Regions from separate parts of the Homo sapiens genome. Here region 2 is linked to region 1. The links are contacts of gene promoters, found by promoter capture Hi-C in human tissues and cell types (Jung and others, 2019). All regions are on one chromosome and are shown on one strand. Each heading gives the region's core, a stretch centred on a gene start or on the middle of the fragment in contact. The rest is flanking DNA. Distances are from core to core; before and after follow the strand shown.

Region 1 (7,670 bases), core at 3,062-5,561:
CCTTTAATACACAGTATGATTTTTTATTGTCCTTTTCTCTATTGAAAAAACCAGACATATTTTATTAAATACTTACACTTTAGACAGAACTGGCTTGAAAACAGAAATACAATCAACCTAAGCATCAAAGAAAGGTAGATAGATGGGTGTATGGATGAATGGATGGATAGATAAGCAAATAAATAAATCACTGAGATCATAAATGGAAGCGAAGTTAAACAAGAGGAGAGTAAATTGATGTCTGCTATTTAATTAATATTACAATATTATTCAAGGAGACAAATATTATGCAACAGTACTTCTCAACTGCCAGTTTTCCTTAAACTATCAATTTTCTAGAAAAATTCCTCAAAAAGTAGAACAGCAGTAATGTCAAAAATGTATCCCAAGACAAAACTCAGTAATGGGGCTAAAAAAGAAACTCAAAATGAAAAAGGTTCACAATGTGCTGTATATATTTCAACTTCTTCAACAACTTGGTCCTCCTGCATAAAAAAGGCTTAGATATTTTGTTAGCAAAGATAATTCCAATACAGATAACCCAAAAGGTTCTCACGCCATATTTTTAAAAGTTGACAAACTATTTGAAATTATCCAACATAACCTAATGAAAACTCTATTAATTAAACTTATTACTTAAAAGATTAGAAAGTAATATCACTATAACCCCTGGCTGAAAAAATAAAATTTTAATCTTACTTTATTTGTATTAAATTATATATGTTCATATTGTACAAGAAATATGTTTGCTACCACGGTGTGGTAAAAAATAATTTAATCCCAAAGATATCCATGTCCTAATCCCAGGAACCTGTAACTGTTACATTACATGGCAAAGGAGAATTAAAGTTTACAAGGAATTATGGTTGTTAATAGATGGCAAGATTATCCTGGATTATGTCAATTGGCCCAAAGTAATCAACAGGGCACTTACAAGTGTAATGGGGAAGCAGGAGAGTTAGAAGGAGATGACTAGGGAAAAACGGTCAGAGAGATACAACTTGGTTGGCTTTTAAGATGGAGGAAGGGGGCCATGAGCCAAGGAATGTGGACAGCTTCTAAAAACTAGAAAAGGAAAGAAAATGGATCTCTCCTAGAATAAACAGTCTTGCCACACTTTGATTTTAGCCCAGCAAGATCCAGGTCTTATTTGTGATCTCCAGAACTACAAAATAATAAGCGTATAACATTTAAACCACCAAGATTACGTTAATTAAACAATTATAGAAATTTAATTCACGTGGCAATTCCTCATACATAAGACCCAAAATAAGAATAACTGATTATCTTTGAGACACAATATTCCCTCAACTACTTTGAAGTTCTTATCATTATCCTTCCAAATCATGTGCCACAGGTTTGTGGCACATGTCCTGCCTGGTGTATCCAGCCAGGACTTCTAGTAGACTTAACAGGTTTTTAATTATACATATTTGTAGCTTTAAAAAAAAAATCACAAACTAGCCTATTCAACATTTTCCATATACTTTCTTTTTACATATTTATTTATTTATTTAGAGACAGGATCTCACTCTGTCGCCCAGGCTAGAGTGCAGTGGCATAATCTTGGCTCACTGCAGTCTCAACCTCACTGAGCTCAGGTGATCCTCCCACCTCAGCCGCCCCAGTAGATGGAACCACAGGCATTGTACTACTATGCCCGGCTAATTTCTGTATTTTTTGTAGGGACAGGGTTTCGCCATGTTGCCCAGGCTAGTCTCAAAACTCCTGCGCTCAAGTATCTTCCCATCTCAGTCTCCCAAAGTGTTGGGTTTACAGGCGTGAGCCACTGTGCCTAGCCTAATTTCATGTAACTTAAAATCTACTCTGCAGTAATCAAAGTCGAACAGGAATATTACATTATGTTAATGCTAAACTGTTCCAAGTTTCGTTTAAGAAATGTGAATGTAAGAAAATCTGGGAATAAATCTAAAATGGTAGATTCTAGGCTAAAAAAACTAAATTAATATTCAAATTTTCAAATAAAGACAGATTAAAAAAACTCATCAAGGGTTCACATAGGTATGGTTCAACATACATTTTTCTTTTTTTGGTAAAATTTAGATATGGTGAAACGCAAAGATAGTATCAATTCAACGAGTTTTGACAAATATATATATCTGTGTAACCAACAATCAGGATAGGAAACATTTCTATCACCTGAAGAAACTCCTATTCTTTCCAGTCAATCTCTACCATCCATAGATAATTTATTTTTTAATATCCAGCTTAATACCTTACTAACATATGCAAACTTAACTCTTTAATCACTTAAATTCCCAACTAAGAGAGCAATTAAGTTATTTATATATACAAATTTTTTTTTTCCTTTTTTACAGATGAGGGGGTCTCACCTATGTTGCCCAGGCTGGACTCTTAATAAGTCCTGGGCTCTAGCAATCCTCTTACCTCAGCCTTTTACACAAACAAAAATAGTTACTGAATTGAACTGCCATAATTTTTAGAACCACTAACATCACCAATACTTTTTAAGGAAGATTATACATTTCTATACGAAAATAACCAGCCAAAACCTTCAAAACTACCTCTATTTTCTGTTAGAAATACCTATCAGCAAAACACACCTATTTTGCGATATCGAGTCAATATTAATACATGCCGCATTAACCATATCATTGACTACAGTGAGGAAAACCCGAGTTTACAAAAACACACTCAGAAACTATTAAAATAGGTAGGTAAAAAATATTAGGTAGATACCTGTACAAATATTACAATGAATTTGGAATTGTAAGCTTTCATGCACACAAAGGGAAAAAAATTTCCTAAATTTGAAGTTTTCATTGAAAAAGTAAATGGCTCAGGGCATTACAAATAAATTTCACAGATTACGTATTCATAAATCAACCTTTGGAAGTCTAGTCCATGTCTTGTCTCTACTCCGCCCCTTACCTTCAAGCTGTCCCTCAGTGAGAATGTACTTGGAACACAACAGAGCATATTACAGCTCAATATCATGCACATACCTACGCTACTCAAAGAAAGCACTGGCAGCGTCACATGTAAGAAACCAAAAAAAAAAAAAGATAATCAATTCTGCATGGCATTTAACATTTTAATTGACAACATTTTTCGTCTTATTTAAAATCGTATAAAACCCAGAAACAGCTTGACTCCAAAGAACTATACCTTTCTAACAAGAAAAGCACATTGGGGACAGAAAGAGAGATTACCCTCCATACCAAAATTTTTCACTTTTATCCTTTACGGTTAGAAAGCCAAGCATCTATTAAGGAGAGGATGAATCCGGGCACAGCCACCACCACGGCCTCTGCCTCTAAAACACATAGGAATCCCCGGACTGTGTGGGAAGGTCTCTTTTCTTTTCTCCCTCCCCTTCAGCAACCTTACAGGATAAGTTTTAAGTCTCGAGCTACAGCACTATGAAGACTTTTCCAAGAAAAGAGATACCAGGGAAGCTGGCCGCCTGTCGCCATGAGTGGTCCGCCCCCTACCCCCACCTGCCCGCGCGGCGCCGGACTCGCGGCTCCGCCTTTCGGGGAGGTCTCCGTGGCCGCCCAGGCGCCACAGCGGGGAGCCGCGGTCGACCCCTCCGGGATGGGGGCCAGGGCAGCCTCCGCGGCTATCCCGGGAGTCCTGCTCCGACACCACCTCCACAGGGGAAGCCGCTCGGAGAGACGCAGGGACCCAGGCAAGGGATGCGGGCAAACGCGCCAAGGGTTCAGCAGAGGGGCGTGACCGCCAGTTGGCCGGGCTGAGCGAGGCGCCAGAGGGAAGCCTGCAAGGTACGTCTGCGAGAGCCGGGTGCGGGCGCGGCAGGGGAAAAGGGGGGCGCTGACTCTCTTACCGCCAGGTCCGGATTGCGGCTGTCCCTGTGTGACACGGCTCGGATGACCCCCGCTCGCCAGCTTCGCCAGCCGCGTCCGCTCTCCCAGCGCTCCGAACGTGCCTCGTCGCCGACCGCCACACACAGGAACCGCTTACCCACCAGCTCTGCCCGCGTCTCTACCGCCATAGCTGTCGCTGCCGAAGCGGCCGCTGCCTCCTCCAGTGCGAGGGAACCGATGAAACCTCACTCCTACCGGCCGCTCATGCTGAGGAGAGCGGACCGGGACACAGCAGCGGACCCGAAAGAGCGCAGACTCGGGACGAACCGGCCGCTCTGCCCCGGACACAGCGACCTCGGGCCCTCCCCGCAAACACTCCTTTGGACTCCCAGATTCGCAGCCTTGTGCTGCAGCGCCACACAAGAAAACTGAAACAAAACCCAACGCGGCCGTCGAAGACCCCGAGGCAGCCCAGCCGCCGCCACCGCGCCGCGGCCAGTACTGCTCCGTCTCCCTCCCCGGGCAGCGGCGGCGCGCAGCGCGTCTCCTTCCGCCGGCGCGGGCGGGGCAGCAGCCGCGGGAGGGTCGGCGGAACCACCGCAGACGGAAAGTAGTGCCCGGCCCTGCGGAGGCGGCAGCGGCCACTGGGTCCGTCCAGATCCAGAGGCGGCGGCGGCGGCGGCAGCGGGAGACGAAAAAATGAAGAGGGCCGCGGGAAAGTAGGCGACAGCTATTCAAAGCTTTTGGGGGTCTACCTTTGTATTCGTTGCTCCCTCAGAGGTGGAGGTGAGGGGAAAGTGAAGTGTAGTGGTTCCACTCTGATCACAAAATAAACTCCTGGGTTGACGCCTCACCCGCGGTTTGATGTTCAGAGCACACAGCGCCCGCCGCCTGAGTTAGCCTGAATTAGCAGTCCCGCAGTAACAGCAGCAGAGCAGGACAACACTTCTACTGAAAACTAAGCCCCAAAGTCACAGCAGAACCAACCGTTCATGACTTCAAGGGAAAACGAGGGGGAAAATGTGATCCTTTCATTCTTCTCATTTGTGGTGATACTAATTACATGTTTAAGCTATTCACAGATTTAAATTCGTCACTGCTTTATTATAAGAACAGCAAATGCTCCGTGGCGGGCCCTTGTCAACGTCCTGAAATTTCACAAACCGTGTCTGCGACAGTCTTAGTACTTTTAGTACTGGTACACAGCTCAAACACACTGGTCAGATAATAAAAGCAGAGAAAATCCCCAGATTCAGTTATTAGAAAATACCATGGAAAGAAAAGGATTTTAGCCAATCACAATTCAAGAAAAAAAATATTTATTTCCCATCCAATTACAATCGGACTCCCTAACCCACACAAAGATCTCTAACTTGGAACAATCACTCTTCTTTGATCAACTTATTTGTTATAAATCAAACCTCCCTACAAATGTCAGTGAGCAGTTCGATTTCAGGCACCCTTTATACTGCTTTTTTATAGGTAGTCCAATATTCTAAATTTCAGTTTCTTGAGATTTTCCTGAACCTCTATTTAAAAAAAAAAAGTTAACAGAGTTTACAGTAGTAATCTGAATGTTTAAAATAACTATAAGGCTTTTATCTGTTTTCTCTAGAACACTCAAGCTGGGCAATTTGAAGTGGAGAAACACAACCACTGCTAATAGGTTAGAAACCAAAATTATAAGGAAGATGGATTTTAATAATCATGGTCAAATTTTGCCAAAGACCAAACATAGAACTGTAATAAATAGGCTGGGCACGGTGCCTCACGCCTGTAATCCCTGCACTTTAGGAGGCAGATCACCTGAGGTCGGGAGTTCGAGACCAGCCTGGCCAACATGATGAAACTAAATGTATTTTTAGTCTCTACTAAAAATACAAAAAATTAGCTGGGCATGGTGGAGCATGCCTGTAATCCCAGCTACTCAGGAGGCAGCAGGAGAATCACTTGAACCTGGGAGCTGGAGGTTGCAGTGAGCCGGGATCGTGCCACTGCACTCCAACCTGGTCAACAAGAGCAAAACTCAGTCCCCCCGAAAACAAACAAACAAACAAAAAACCTGTAATAAATTAAAACAGCAAAACATACCCAAAAATGCATATCGGCAAGTTGAGAGAAAAAATTTTGCTTGGGCAATTTTATTTCCAAGTCCACTTTTTCAGTGTACACTGTATAATACTTAGCAAATTATCTTAAGAATTACAGATGAAGATTTCTAAAATCAGTGTAGATTAAGGAACCAGTAAAGTGACTTGGTGACAATAATTCAACATATGTAAGGATAAAAGAGTAGGGAGATCAACATCCAGATACCAAGTCATCAATGATCTGCTTTGTGACCATGGGCATGATGCAATTGTAAAAATGCAAAAATGCCTGAATCCTAATTTTCAGTGATATCCTAGGAGCAAACGAAAAATACAAATAAAGTCATTTGAGAAAAACATGCAAATTCATCAGTTATTACATAAATCCCACTCACCAAATTACATTCTTAAGAGTATAGGTTGCTAGTTGCCTTATATAAAACTGCCAGCTGTTTTCAATTTTGTAGGCAAACTGCTCTAAATGGGCCCCTGGGAACTCCCACTACATGTTGAATTCCATCCTTTTCAGTCCTCTGAAAAGCATGTAATCCAACAAATCAATCAAAATATTTCATGTATAGAAACAAAGTTTTTCAGGAGGGCATATATCCCCAAAATATTTTTAATCAAGTATCTTAATATTCTTAGAACTCTGGTCCAAATTCTCTTCTACTAATCCCTTGACTACAGCCAATGCCTAGAGTTTACACTAATTTGTGGATATTTTGCTGTTGGAAAAATTTAAAAGTACATTTTTTTAAATGTAGAATAAAAAGTCCTTAAAGATTTTTTGTTTGTTTGCTGGCATTTTTTGCTTCGTTTTGTATTAAGGGGTATTTTTATTATTTTATTTTTGCCAGCAAATCATAACTTTGTAAATAACAAGGAATTTAAAAAATTTTTCAAGTTGGTTTTGAAACTTCAGAATATTTGTTTCTTAACTTGTTTCCTTACATTCTTTACTTCCATAAAGATACTCGGAAACAGAAGAGTAATGGTATTTGTTTTCATTATACAGGTAAAAAGAATGACAGTGAATTACTTAAAATAACTAAGTTTACTTATAGAAGCTGAAAATTAGACATATAAATTAGATTTTCTAGTCTTTCCATCCCCACGTGTAAATATGTCCATTAAATATGCCTATGCACACATCAATTCAAGCAAACCTCCTACATCAAATATCTTAATCTACACCAAAGACTGGGAGATTATTTGATTTTTTCCCTTTTTAGAAGTTCACAAAAATTTATTCATAAAAACAGCTTGGGCTGGATGATGGCATGTGTCTGTTGTCCCAGCTTCTCTGGAGGCTGCAACTGGAGGATCTCTTGAGCCCAGGACTTCTGTTCAGGCTGGGCAACATCACAAGACCCTGTCTCTAAAAAACATTTTTAAAATACAAAAAAAACCCACAAACTATTTTGTTTTTTTAAAAAACTGACTTATAAAGGAAGAAAATGTATTCACTGCAATAAGAACCATAATTATCTACTTAGTTTAGTCTGAATAAGCAAAAGCCTAGTAGTTATAGATTTTTCACTTTTTGACTTGGTATGTAACTGTGGAAAGTGTCAATCATCTGCTCTCATACATACTAATATTTTATGTCACTATACATGTCTACTTTAAATATCACAGATATTATCTAACACAGACAAAAAGTTTAACACATCTTTTTAGCCACCACTTATAGAACACTTACTATGTGTCAGACAGTATACTAAGTACTTTACACACGTAATCTCATTTTGAGGATAAAGAAAATGAG
Region 2 (7,670 bases), core at 1,666-4,165, 81 kb after region 1:
GAGGAAGGAATTTCAGATTTCTGGCTTGGATCCTTGAGTGGGAGGTGTCAAACATGAGAGGAAGAAAAGGTTTAGAGAAGGAATGATGAGCTTAAACAACAGCAAGTGTGTTGTTGGGGAAAGGGTGAACAGAGCACTTTAGATAAGGAAGGTACACAGAAGCAGATGGGATGTTAGGGCAATGCTTTCATTTTAATTTGGATACTGGGTTTGCATGTGTTCATTTTGTTGTTAGACTTCATAACTTGCACATATTACATATATTTTCTAGTATGGATAATATGTAGTAAGTTTTTAAAGTAACATTTGGTAAAACTGCTATTGGAAAAAAATACCCTATGTTAAGATTTTGAGAAGACGACCCAATTCTCCCCGTATGTATATGCATTAGGGATTAGTTAAATGTCACCAAAGCAAAGACTATTTGATTTATATAGCTCTTCTTCATATGTTAAAAATGCAAAATACAAAGGAACAGTGATTTCTATGACCAGCAGAAAAAGTTATCATCTGCAACTCTGGGGTATTTATTGTGATTAGATTAATTTCTGTGGCTATCTTATTTTTTAATAAATACAAAGAAGACAGAATTAGCTATTTGAAGCAAATGAAAAACTTTGCTTTTTAAATTGTTTGTGGTGATTATGGGTACTTGTTTCTTTGTTTTAAATTTAATTTTTAAAATTTACATAATATATTTAGACATACATATAACATACAGTGAACAGATTAATGTAATTAGCATACCCATCATCTCAAATGTTTACCATTTATTTGTGCTGGGAATATTCAATATTCTGGTTCTACCTATTTGAAACTGTGTATTACTGTTAACTATAGCCATCCTACAGCGTTATAGAACATTTGAACTTCTTTTTATTTATTTATTTTTTTTGATGGAGTCTCGCTCTGTTGCCAGGCTGGAGTGCAGTGGTGCGGTCTCGGCTCACTGCAACCTCCGCCTCCCAAGTTCAAGTGATTCTTCTGCCTCCGCCTCCCAAATAGCTGGGACTACAGGCACCCGCCACCATGCCCAGCTAATTTTTGCATTTTTAGTAGAGACAGGGTTTCACCACGTTGGCCAGGATGGTCTCGATCTCTTGACCTCGTGATCCACCCACCTCGGCCTCCCAAAGTGCTAGGATTATAGGCATGAGCCACTGCGCCTGGCCAACTTCTGTTTTTTTTTTTTTTTTTTTTTTTTTGAGATGGAGTCTTGCTCTGTTGCCCACGCTGGAGTGCAGTGGCACGATCTCAGCTCACTGCAACCTCTGCCTCCGGGGTTCGAGTGATTCTTACAGGCGTAAGCCACTGCGCCCAGCCTCATCTTCTTTATGGTGTTACATTTCTGTTGAAGGTAAAACATTTTGTTTGGAATCAAATTTTCATTTAGTCTCGGGGTAACTTGCAATTTTAAATAAGGTAGTTGGGGAAAGCCTCTGAGAAGTGGATATTTGAACAGAGTTAAAGGTGAAGGCATTAGCCACACAGATTCTGGGGAAGAGTGTCCCAGGAAGGAAGCCAACCGGGTGTAAACCCTAAGTCAGGTCTGTACTCATCACATGGAGGTCAATGTGGCTGGAGCAGAGTAGTGTGACCAGAGGTGTAGGCCATTGTTAAAGACACTGGAACTGGCTCTGAGTGAGGTGGGAAGCTGTTGGAGGGTTCTGAGCAGAGAAGTGATATTATCAGATTTTGTGTTTTAAAAGCTCTACTACAGAGAACAGCCTGTATCGAAGCAAAGATGGAAGCTTGGAAACGAGTTAAGAGGCTGTATTAATAAACCAGCGAGTAGTGGTGAGTAGTGGGTGGTGACTTGGACCAGGCTGGTAGCAGTGGTCAGATGCTAGATTCATTTTAAAGATAGAACCCATAGGATTGTTTGACAGATTGGCTGTGAATATTCAAAGTGAAGAAACCTCATGAGTTCATGAAGTAGGGAGTAAGTATACCTAGAGAAGAGAAGAAAATGGACAAGTTATTTATAAAATGTATATGGAAATGCAGAGGGCCAAGAATAGTCAAGACAATCTTGAAGTAGAAGAGCAAAGAACAAAATACTGGGATGCCGTATAGATATTAGTAGTGGAATAAGTTACTTATATCAAGATTGATTATAAAGCTACAGTAATTACAACAACATGGTATTGGGTCAAAGATGGACACATAGATCAATAAAAAACACAGAGTCTAGAAAGTGACCCATACATATATAGGCATTTGTCTTATCACAAAGGTAGCACTACACAGCATTGGGGAAAGATGGCTATTCGCAATTATGATTGTATGCCAATTGGATATCCATCACTTGCAGAATCATAGTCACCTATCTCAGACCAAACACAAAAAATAAATTCCAGTTGGATCACAGATAAAAATAAAACAGTAAAGCTTCTCAAAGATAATATAGAAAACTTCTTCGTGACTTTTTTTTTTTTTGAGACAGAGTTTCACTCTTTCACCCAGGCTGGAGTGCAGTGGTGCAATCTCAGCTCACTACAACCTCCGCCTCTCAGTTTCAAGCAATTCTCCTGCCTCAGCCTCCCAAGTAGCTGGGATTACAGGCGCCCGCCACCATGCCCAGCTAATTTTTGTATTTTTAGTAGAGGCGGGGTTTCACCATGTTGGCCAGGCTGATCTCAAACTCCTGACCTCGTGATCTGCCTGCCTCAGCCTCCCAAAGTGCTGGGATTACAGGCGTGAGCCACCATGCCTGGCCAATTCTTCACGACTTTAAGATAACCAAAAACAACCTTAAACATGATACAGAAAAGCATTAATCATGAAAGAAAAGGCTGATAATGACAAATGGGAAAACACTAAAATTAAGCACTTCTCTTCATCAAAGACACCATTGAGAGTGAAAAAAGAAGCCAAAATGGGAGAAAATCACATGTAAATGCAAAAAATGGCTCATATTCAAAATATACAAAGAAAAATGGACAAGATACTTCACACCAAAAAAGGGGTGGGGTGCATGCAAGTAGCCAAGAAACATAGGAAAAGGTGCTCTCACTTCTTTTCCTGGAGTGGTGGCAACATTATGTAATGCTGGACCACATTTCTATCCTCTTTTTATATCTTTGGGGAAAAAACTAGAGATTCCTGGGCCTTTATTTGTACCATCACACCTTTAGGATTGCATAGGAATCAAGATTGTTCAAATTTAGCCTAAAATGTGAATGGTTGTACATTTAAAGAGAATAAAAATGTATTCTTGAAGATGAGATTACTATTTTAAGAAAAGCTCTTCTACCATTTGCATCAGATAATATTGGGCACACTCACACTCATGCATAACCTCTTTATTAAGAGTTGGATGCCTCAGCCTTGCAGCTAAAACCTGTGGAATGGAGAATGAGGTCAGAAAAATACCACTACAAACACTAACAACTCATATTTTAAAAGAAATATCACCAGGGAAGGAGAACACTGAGACAATTCTGTACAAAGAATGCCTATTTTCTTCTAATGCTTCAAAATCTATTTTGACGTTTTTCCCAAGGATGTAACCTAAAGGTAGAGGCTGCCCTGAGTGTCACTTATTGATTGTCATAAGAAGATTTTCATGAGATGGCACTGGGATCCAAGGTAACCAGCCTGTGTTCAGCGGGGACTGGAAGTGATAAGGATAGAAAAGCATCTGTGTTTAGAATGCTCCAATGAGCAATCAGCACTCTCCTGAGATGACCCTTTACTGTTGCTAGGCACTCATTTCTGTTTCTGGAGTGGGTGGCAACATTATGTAATGCTGTACCACATTTCCATTCTCTTTATATATCTTTGGGGAAAGAATTAGAGCTTCCTGAGTTTTTATTTTGTGCTATTAAATCTTTAGAATTGAATAGAAATTGAGATTGTTCAAATTTGGCCTAAAAATTGAATGATGGTACATTTAAAGAAAAAAAAATCTATTCTTGAACATGCAATTACCATTTAAAGAAGAGCTTTTTTACCATAAGCATCAAAGAACATTAGACACTCCCCTGCATAAGCAGTAGTTTAGGTGCTTAATTTACATAATTCACATCAAGTATAGGGAACTCCTATACCTCTGTTTTATTTATCTATTCCCAGAAGTGCCTAATGAGAAACTGATTTTCTTTTATGGATATTTCTGATTGTCCTTTTTTAGAACAAAGCTGCTGAAAATTTAAAGATCAGGTTTTAGGGTTTTATTTTCAGCAAAATGAACAAAAATGTAACTGCGATGGGCCCTCCCATTGAAAAAAAAAATGCTAGCTAAAATATTTATTTAATTACGCTTTCTCAATGCACCAGTCAGGGAAGCCATTCAGACCACGAGTTTTTGTATAAACAAAATGATAATCAAATACTACTTGATAACATGGTCAACCAAAAACTTTAGAACCAATGAATATTGTATAAAGAATATACTACTGTTACATGTAAGTTCTCAGAACTGGAAATGTTTGATGGTGATCTCTTGTAAGAGTCAAAATAAGTGCCCTTTGAGTTTTTTTTTTTTAAATGCACCATTGAGTTTATTAAAAAGTACAGCTTACTCAGAGGCCAGAGGCCAAGAAAGGTAAAGAGAGAACTAAAGCCACCTTTCACCTAAGGACATTTCCTGAAACCTGATAACCTTGACATTTTGGTTTTCATGTTCTCATGGGGCATGTTGGGCAAAAAGCAACACCAAGGACTGACCTAGTGTAGGTAGTCTAATAGCATAAAGCTAGAAACCAAAGAAATAAAGAACTATGTCTCATTTATTCCATAGAAGGCAGAGGTGTGGAGTGGGGAGAGAGATAAAGAAAGAACAGCCAGGTGTGGTGGCTCATGCCTGTAATCCCAACACTTTCGGAGGCCACGGCTGGTGGATGACTTGAGCCCAGGAGTTGGAGACCAGCCTGGATAACATAGTGAGACCCCATCTTTACAAAAAATTTGAAAGTTAGCTAGCCATGGTGGCCCTCGCCTGTCATCCTAGTTGTTCAGGAGGCTGAGGCAGGAGGATCCCTTGAGCCCAGATTTTGAGGCTGCAATAAGCTGTGATGACACCACTGTACTCCAGTTTGGGTGACGTTGTCGAAGGGAATAGAGAGAAAAGCTGCTGATCTAAGTAACTTTGGAAATGATTGGAATCAGTAAGACTGAACTCAAAAAGACTCGTACATGATACTACTGTAGTTGATAAAGTTGTATACCATGAATGTGTATGGTTAGCAATTCTGAAACCACCATATATGTTTACTGGAATTAAACAGTTAAGTAAATGTTTCTCATTGTTGGAATGTTAGGGTACAGATAAGAAAGGGGAGGAAGCTAGAATGATCCACGTGGGGAAGAGGAAAGATGAGGAGGGAAGGAGGCATTCCAGCTAAGAATCATAACCCAGGATTGAAGTTGAAATACAAGAGGCATATTGAGGAAACCATGCTGGAACAGATGGTTTATATAGGGCAGTGCTTTTCAAATTATGTTCTGATGCACTCCCACAGAGGCTGGCCAGCAAGGGGTGAGGAGGCCTGCTAGTGAAGTCTTTAAGTGAGGCAGTGCTGCAGGTGTATTAGAAAGATTTATCTGACAGTGGACACAGAGGAATGTGTTGGGAAGCTGTTCAGTAAATCCGATGAGATGGCGTGAGCCCAAATGTGTTATTGGCCACGAGTTTGAAAATAAAACAAGAGGATGGATGCATGTATTCTCACCAAGGGAGAACCACCAGGACTGGGTTACAGATGGGAGAAATATTATACCATGGGAAGGAGGTATCAAAGCCCCATCCAGTGATAGAAGTGAAGAATCTCATGTTGGATGTAAATCTGATGGTACTAGATTGTTTGGGAATATGGAAGTTAATACTTTGATTGTATCCAAGTTCTAAAGGGAATTACAAAGTGAATTACAATAATTAGCTTGAATATATCAAATATAACTAGATGGCTTACTATGGGATTATATCTAGTGTCAGCAGTGTGGATGAACACACAGCAGACCTGGGAATTCTTATTTACAGCTCAGTTCTTAAGGTTAATTTTCTTAGAAGTCTCTAAATTTCTGAGTTTAGGTAGGGGTGGGGATAAGTTAAATTGAAAAGCCCCAAGTACTAAAAATCCCATATCCAGAGTCTAGGAGTTGGCACTTCTGGTAAGGTAGCATTCACAGGGTAGTATTGTTAAGGATGGCAGAGATTTGGTAAGGATGGAATCCCCAACAGAGGAAGAGTTGGCATTCCTCCTTGGGCCCAATAAGCCACAAACCTAGAGCTCCAGGTTAAGGAAGGATAAGGATGTCAAGGCTAAGGACCTCAGGTAGTATCTACTATCCTCTCCATCAAAAGAAAATAAATAAGCTATAAATGAACTAAAAATATATAGAGATACAGGTATTTGCTTGCTTTCAATGTAGGAAAGTCTTAATGCAAAGTTATTTAATACAAGGGTTCACAGATATACAATATATACACTTCAGCAAAATTCATAAAATCAAAAGGTAACAATAATCTATAAAAATAACAACATATAAAACAGACAATTAACATATAAAACTAACACTAGAATCAACAACACTCCAGTAGTACAAGAATAGCTAGTGTCCAGATCTTGGTTTCAAATACCATTTTCCAATAAAAGGAATAAAGGCTCCTTAGAGACATGTTGATTCTAGGAATGGGCAGGAAATATACATGATGAGCCTGCAGCATCTTGTAGTGCCAGAAAGTAAAGAAAGTGCTCAAACAAAAACAATGTAGGTATGTCGTAGGGACACAGGACATTGAGAAAGATCCCAGTGACCCAAGGAGATCTGGAACAATTTAAGCAGCAAAATAAAGTAGTATTGGATTATACCATCCAAAGCATAAAATAAATATCATGAGTCCATACTCATATAAATAAATGAATACAGGAGAATAGGTAAATCTCTCCTGGAGAAGAATCCATATAATTTATGTAGATACTCTGCCCTCAAGGAAATGGAGCATCACTCCCCACTCCTTAAGGCTGTACATAGTGACTTTCTGCCAAAAAACGTGGTATGTAAATCTGGGGAGGGGCGCCAGTAACTTTACCTAACATATACTACCTCAGCCACATCATCTTTGTGATATTACTCCCAAAAACCCATGACCTGAGTCTAATCTTGAGAAAAATTTCAGACAAATGTCCCTAATTGAGGGACATTCTAAAAAATACTTAAGTAGCACTCCTCAAAACTATCAAGGCTATCAAAACTCAGGCTTGAGAAACTTAGTGAGGAGCTTGGGAAAACATGATGAGTAAACATGATATGGTAAATGGATGGGATCCCAGATGGGATCCTGGAAAAGAAATGAGACCTTAGGAAAAACCAGGAAAATTTGAATAAAGTATGGACTTCAATTAATAACGATATATTATTATTAGTTTCTTAATTGTGGCAAATGTGTCATACCAATGTAAAATTTTAAGAATAAGAGAAATCAGTTGTGGAGTTTATGGGAACTATCTGTACTATCTTCACACTTTTTCTGCAAAACTGTTCTAAAATTAAAATTTTATTTTAAAAGAGTAAGTGGCCAACATTATGGCATTTCTGTCTTAATTATTATATCTCCTAAATAAGGCATTATCTTATATAGTCACAAGACAAATATCACTTAAGAAATACAGCACTGGGGCCGGGCACAGTGGCTCACGCCTGTAATCCCAGCACTTTGGGAGGCC

Evidence for each region. Contacts are between HindIII fragments. The study calls those that stand out against the background at their distance.
Region 2: a fragment that was not itself captured here is called in contact with the fragment with the promoter of JMJD1C in region 1 in 3 of the 25 tissues and cell types used here (dorsolateral prefrontal cortex, hippocampus and spleen).

Annotation. Positions count from the first base shown.
Region 1 is chr10:63,461,666-63,469,335 of GRCh38, forward strand. It overlaps JMJD1C (jumonji domain containing 1C), which reads right to left and starts at 4,312. Exons shown (of 26, transcript NM_032776.3): 1 at 3,830-4,312. The coding sequence starts at 3,997. JMJD1C-AS1 (JMJD1C antisense RNA 1) reads left to right here and starts at 3,564. Exons shown (of 1, transcript NR_027182.1): 1 at 3,564-4,898. RefSeq lists silencers at 3,425-3,764, 4,305-4,454 and enhancers at 3,544-4,333, 3,955-4,024, 4,105-4,274, 4,725-4,774. The HindIII fragment of the contact is 6,698 bases long and covers 335-7,032 here.
Region 2 is chr10:63,544,501-63,552,170 of GRCh38, forward strand. All of the region lies in intron 1 of REEP3 (receptor accessory protein 3), which reads left to right. Among named protein-coding and RNA genes, the nearest start is that of REEP3, 27 kb to the left of the region's middle. The HindIII fragment of the contact is 5,858 bases long and covers 1-5,844 here.